2 separate regions of the Homo sapiens genome follow, and region 1 is linked to region 2. The links are contacts of gene promoters, found by promoter capture Hi-C in blood cells and fetal thymus (Javierre and others, 2016). All regions are on one chromosome and are shown on one strand. Each heading gives the region's core, a stretch centred on a gene start or on the middle of the fragment in contact. The rest is flanking DNA. Distances are from core to core; before and after follow the strand shown. Region 1 has its middle 100 kb from the start of ZPLD1. Region 2 holds the start of CEP97 (centrosomal protein 97).

Evidence for each region. The method cuts DNA at HindIII sites, captures the fragments that hold promoters and counts their contacts. A CHiCAGO score of 5 or more calls a contact.
Region 1: a contact is called between a fragment that was not itself captured here and the fragment with the promoter of CEP97 in region 2, in 1 of 17 cell types (total CD8 T cells). The highest score is 6.2, in total CD8 T cells.

The regions. Positions count from the first base shown.
Region 1 is chr3:102,535,116-102,538,658 of GRCh38, reverse strand. No RefSeq gene overlaps it. Among named protein-coding and RNA genes, the nearest start is that of ZPLD1, 100 kb to the right of the region's middle. RefSeq lists a silencer at 1,840-2,134. The HindIII fragment of the contact is 794 bases long and covers 1,395-2,188 here.
Region 2 is chr3:101,723,210-101,726,319 of GRCh38, reverse strand. CEP97 (centrosomal protein 97) reads right to left here and starts at 1,706. Exons shown (of 11, transcript NM_024548.4): 1 at 1,601-1,706. The coding sequence starts at 1,643. RefSeq lists enhancers at 228-839, 1,011-1,080, 1,361-1,730. The HindIII fragment of the contact is 6,095 bases long and covers 1-3,110 here.

The sequences.
Region 1 (3,543 bases), core at 542-3,041, 810 kb before region 2:
CCTCTCCATTTTTTTTTAAGAAAGCGGGATACCGCTTTGATAGCCCCACACAATAGAATCCTCCTACCACCTATTAAGAGGACCTTTTTTGGTGTACATTAAAAGTCTTTTTTCTTTGATAAAAGTCCAATATCAAATGAAAGACCACTCTTTAGGAAGCAGTGCCTTGCAGCGTGCAGACGTCAAACTTAACATCTATAATTTTATATTCATATTTCTAGGGCTTGTGACTCTTTGTAGACCATTAGAATTAGTTGTAGTACAGTTTAGGCTACTGTAATAAAGAAACTAAAAAAAAATATTTAAGCTTAAGTCAGACAGGCATTGGCTTATTTCTCATGTAAGGTCTGCATAGGCATTCCAGGGCTGTTACGGCACATCAGAAGTGATGGGAAGCCAGGCTTCCTTTATCTTGTTGCTCTATTTCTCTTTAAAACTTAGCTTCCTTCTCTTGGTTCAGTGGCTGTTCCATTCCCATCATCATATCCACATTCCAGCCAGCAGAAAGGTAGAAAAAGACAAGGGGAGAAGAAAATGCATGTTCTTCATGAAGGCATGGCACCAAAGTTAGCACATATCACACAGTTGATGCCACACTTAAGAAGCTAGGGCATATTTGGCTGTATAATCATGTACCAGCACAAAGTTCTATTGAAAGAAAAAGAAAAACAATGGTTATTCTGGGATAAATAGCAGAATCTGCCACGTCTGGGTTAAACAAAATTGATAATTTTATGCCTGATAACCCCCATGAAAAAGGCTCTCGTAACAAAAATCTCCCCTCTCCCACTTCATACCCTAAACTCTTGGCTAATTTCTTTAATCATGTTTATTCTAAACAGCCCTCAAAATAAAATGGAGTTATTATTTGGAAGGCTGAAGTGAGGATAGATTTCGTTCAAAAAAAGATAGCATAGAAAAAAATAATGGAGGTATATTTTCAAGGTTTCTAAGTACTTGAATTCAATCATTTTTAAATATGATTAAAATTTAATAATTTTTTAAAATTTAATCACCTGAATTTTTAAGAATGAATGGTTTTCTAGTCTCAGAATATATGCCTTCTTTATCTGTATCTATGTGTTTGGTTAAAACCTTTTTATCTCCTGTGCCATTTTGATCTATTGAGCAAGATGAAATCAGTCTCTATCCTTTGTTTCTACCATTTCTAATCGATCTATTTTTATTATTAATAATAATAGTTAACATTTTTGAGTACTTGCTGCTTAATTTATTTCTCCCAAATGCCCAGTGATGTATGCACTATTGTTATCCCTAGCTCACAGATTACAAAATTGGAACTAGCAAGGGCTATAGCCAGGATGCCACCCAGATAATCATCTATTGAGCAACCAACTAAAACCCTATGCAGTGCTTTATCAAGCTAACAAGCTTTTTGTACAAAAACAGAATCAGGGTGGGTGATCAAGCATAAAGCATTCAGTACAAACAAACACTGCAGAAGAAATAAAAGATTGTTCACAATAACAGAAAAACTAAAGACAAGAAAAATTTTAAGCAGTCTTTAGTGTTTTTAATTCCCTAGTTCCAATGCTTCCTAACCAAGAAAGACCATGAACAGACCACTTCGGTTCTATACAGAAATGAAAGTAGAAAATGCAAAATATTTTCATTAATGAAAATCCCAGAATTATTCAGAACTGGCAAATGATAATATGTATGGTTTTAACTAATCATTTTTCAAGAGTAGATAACAGGTTCCTTGATAGAAATCCTTGGCTTGTTTTCATTTCTAAAATGTGTGCTGTTGACTTTTCCATCACATTGCTCTAAATGAACAGGAGAACGTGGGCTGAGCCTGAACAACGAGAACTCTAAAAGCGTGCGCAGGTAGCACATTTGTGTGTGCAGATGTTTAGAAGGAAAGGTGCTCCCAGGAATTGCTAACCAGAGGATTAGAGCTCAGCACCAGACAAGCTGTCATTTTCTGTGGTTGTATTTCTGAGCTTATTTACTAGGTGGCGATATAATCTTAAAAATAAGCATTAACATTTCGGTGCCAAAGTGTCAGCTCTCCAGTTTTTTCACTGAAGCGTTTTTCACTTCCACTCCTTCTTTTCTTTGGCTCTTACTTTTGCTGTCTTTCTCTGAAATTTTGTGTCATCTGCTTTATTTTCATAACAGAAAAACTATTAAACCATAAAAGCTGGCTTGAGAAAGAGAAGCTTGAAATCCCTCAGTAGTATGATCTGAATATAGAAATATAGGATCTTCAGTCTTTTGCTATCAGCAGCTCCTGAGGGCTGACTAACAGTCAGATTTATTTGCTGCATATCTGGAATTCTTTTTATTGCTAAAACGTTAGAGAAGTAAACCCATTTTCTGGTAAATGGGTAAACATATACACATATATATCTTTCTCAATACTCCTAGAAATAGACCTCCTTGAGACCAATGAAAAGCAATACATTATCAAATGTTTTTGCAAATCCAAATCCTCCACGCTTACTTCCTCTATCTCATCTTCACACATCACACCACCAGCCTCAAAGTGTATAGTAATTTTGGAAGAACTTACAGAATTATGAATAAGCAAATATCAGTTAAGGTGCTTTATAAAGAGTTAAATGGCATTCAAATACTAATTACTATTATTTTACAATATCCAGTTCTATCATCCAGGGACAAGGTAGGGGATATCTTATCTGGAAATTAGAAATAAGAAGCCTTCTTTTTTCTTGCCTTTTAAAATTATCTTGAGAAAATATCATCCCACTGGCCTATAGATGATGACCCAGAAAATGCTACCACTACAAGTTCATGTAATTACCCACTAATGTTACATGGTCATCTACTACACAGCATTGTGCTGGACATTATGACACTGTGAGAATTACTGAGGAAGATAAACCATAATCTCTCACCTCAAGAAGCACATATGTTGGTAAAGCACAGTAAACACAGTAGTTCTGACATAATATTTCTGCACTCAGAGCTCAGAGAGAGTAGGGAAGGCAGGAGGAAGTTGAAAGAAAAATAATAGATGATTCAAACTTGAACACATCCTGGAAGGATGGGAAGGATATTGACATGTGAGAAGGGGAAAGGTGCAAGAGGAGAACCTTCCAGACAGATTGACCTTGCAACTGGGATTGAACAAGTGTTCATTTAAGCCAGAATCAATGAGGAAAGGTAATGTGGGTGGATGCTACTTAAAAGGGGGAAACAGAGAAAGATTGGCGGAGTGGGGTTTGGATTGTGGAAGGCCATGAGAAGCAAGCAGAAGAGTAGATTTAATTTGACAGCAAACACCATTTCGAGGAGCACCAGAGCAACACTGTGAAAGAGTTGTTTTAGAAAAATCAGCCTATGCTGGGCCCGGTGGCTCACACCTGTAACCCCAGCACTTTTGGAGGCCAAGGCAGGGGGATCACCTGAGGTCAGGAGTTGGAGACCAACCTGGCCAACATGGCAAAACCCTGTCTCTACTAAAAATACAAAAAAATTAGTTGGGCATGGTGGCAGGTGCCTATAATTCCAGCTACTTGGGAGGCTGAGGCAGGGGAATCGCTTGAACCTGTG
Region 2 (3,110 bases), core at 457-2,956:
TGGACGATTACTTCCATTTGTTGTGCCTAAGTAATGATACTATTGTTTAAATGTTACTAAACTTTTGACTGCAATCCACCAGCTTACAGCCTAACTACCAATATATCCTAAAGTGCCCAAACTGTGATTTTGAAAATCAAAGTATAGTTCAACTAATTCTCCCATAAAATAGGATAATACACCCATTTCCCTAGCTTGATATGAGAATTAAAAGAGAAACCATATGAATAGTACTTAGCCCCGTTCCTGCCACCGGGCACTCAATAAGGCACTTTAGTATAACATAGACGTTCAAACCCTGGCTCCACCAATTAACCATTGTGGTATATTAGGCAAATTATTGATTTCTTTTGGGCTCCCTTTTCTACTCTGTAAAGTGGGGATAATACCTGCCTTATAAATGTAGTTCTACAGAGAAAATGAGATAATGTAAAAAAAAAAACAAAAAAAAAAAGGACTGAGAACATCGCCTGGGTCATACAAAGTGCTCTGTAAATGTTAACTGCTATTAACAGTTAAGTAGCCCTGGTGGGCTTGAGAGGTGTGGTTTAAGAAAAGCCGATCTCCAAAGAGGGCGGGGCCAGAGAAACGGCCAATTTCAAATTTACACCCAGATTAGGACTACTGCAGGAAATAATTATGCCAGATTGCTCTCCTGGAGGATTTCAACGTTTTCCCGTTGTCTAATGGCTCTTAGCATGTGAGGAGTCGTGAGCCCCTCTGAAAAATTGATGAAAGGGGTGTGCTGTCTCAGAAAAGTGCACAGCCTTTGTACACAATTCCAAGGGGTCGACAGAGAGGTCTGAGAACCATCCACCAACTCTTCCCCCAAGAATTTACAGCTCCCAGAAAATGCACTCCTGGTCTAAGCCATGAAGACGGGCCTCGACCCCTGGGCCCTGTCCCCGATTTAGAGGACTGACTGCTGCCAAGCCTCGGAGCTGTAACCAAAACAAAAGCAGCTCGCGTCCGGCGCCCCAAAGAGGTAGGTATCTTCAGGCCACAGAAGCACCCACACAGTCCTGTGCTCTACTGGGCAGCGACCAAACTCGATCCTAGGACCCGTGTGCAAGAACAAGGAGTACAGAACTGCGGGCTCTGGATCATCCCTTAGATTTTATCACGGCCACTGGCCACCTCCGAGGAAGGGTTCAAAGCCAGACTAGGCAGCGGTCTCTGAGGGAAGGTTTTCCTGATGGTTCCAGGAACCAAGAAGAGAGGGAGATGTGTGAAGCGAAAGAGGGAGATCCCAAACATTTCGCTTAGGCACCCATGACTCAAAGTAAATGGTCAAGAAAGGTCATCGCAGCCCGAAATCCACCGCCTCCTCAGCATCGGGAGCGCGGGAGCCAGGGCGCCGGGCCGCGCGAAGGCTTCTGGGGGCTGTAGTCCCCCGCTCGGCCCTCACCGCGACGCCGGAGAGCTGGGAACGGCAGGTGAACTACAACTCCCAGAGGGTAGCCCGCCTCCGCGACGACCACAGATCCGCATCAAAAGAACTGGTCCAGAACTGCACATCTAAACCTAGGTTTTCTGCTCTCCACTATTTAATTCAGCTCCGTGAAGTAAACCTTAGGACTCGGGGTAGGGATCGCCTTACCTTCTCCGGGAGGCAAAGCCGCGTCCACGCGCGCCACCGCCATATTTGCTGCTTGCTAATAATACCAGGCAACCGTCCTCCCGCGGCTCTGTGGAGCTTGTAATCTGAAGGAGGGAGCCGGAAACTATAACTCCCAGGATGCACGGCTCCCAGACGGCCCAATTGGCTGCTTACGCCTAATGATGTGAAGCTGGAGTTAGAATCTGAGGGTAGTGAGCTCAGGGACCCTGGCCCACTCGCTTATTTGACAGATGAGTCAACTGCGTTATTAGATGATCATTTCACTTCCTTGTCCAGGCGTTTGCGAAATTTGACACTTTTACCATCGGGATGATTGTAAGGAAGCTACTTAATGCAGACTGCATTTTACAACTCATTGCTGGAAGTCTCTGTGGGGGCTGCTCCATTCTTTTGATAATTGTGAATAAGTTGAAAGTTTTCAACTCCGCTATAGGAATGACCGATCTTGTTGAGATCATAAAAGTGGATACATTTTATTTGAAATTTTAGTTAAGTAAAAGTAAAGTATGCCGAAATAGAAACTTTTATACAGTATTTTTAAGTGATTGTTTGATTGTTCTTGAATATTTGACAAATCTTTTGACTTACGGGTATAAGTATGAACCAAGAACTTTTCCAGGGAGTATTCAAAATAACTTTAAAATATAATCTCCAGGCCGGGCGCAGTGGTTCACGTCTGTAATCCCAGCACTTTGGGAGGTCAACGCAGGCTGATCACCTGAGGTCGGGAATTCGAGACCCGCCTGGCCAACATGGAGAAACCCCGTCTGTAGTAAAAATACAAAAAAATTAGCCTGGCGTGGCGGCGCATGCCTGTAATCCCAGGTACTCGGGAGGCTGAGGCAGGAGAATCGCTTGAACCCGGGAGGCAGAGGTTGCAGTGAGCCGATATCATGCCACTGCACTCCAGCCTGGGCAACAAGAGCGAAACTATGTCTCAAAAATATATATATTTTATATAGATATTGCATATATTATAATTATATATAAATTATATATTATATATGTTATATATTTAGATATTATATATTATATGTTATATATTTAGATATTATATATTATATATGTTATATATTTAGATATTATATATTATATATGTTATATATTTAGATATATTATATATGTCATATATTTATATATTATATATTATATATGTTATATATTTAGATATTATATATTATATATGTCATATATTTAGATATTATATATTATATATGTTATATATTTAGATATTATATATTATATATGTTATATATTTAGATATATATGTTATATGTTATATATTTATATATTATATATGTTATACATTTATATATTATATATGTTATATATTTATATATTATATATTATATATGTTATATATTTATATATTATATATTATATATGTTATATATTTATATATTATATATTATATATGTTATATATTTATATATTATATATTATATATGTTATATATTTATATATTATATATGTTATATGTTATATATTA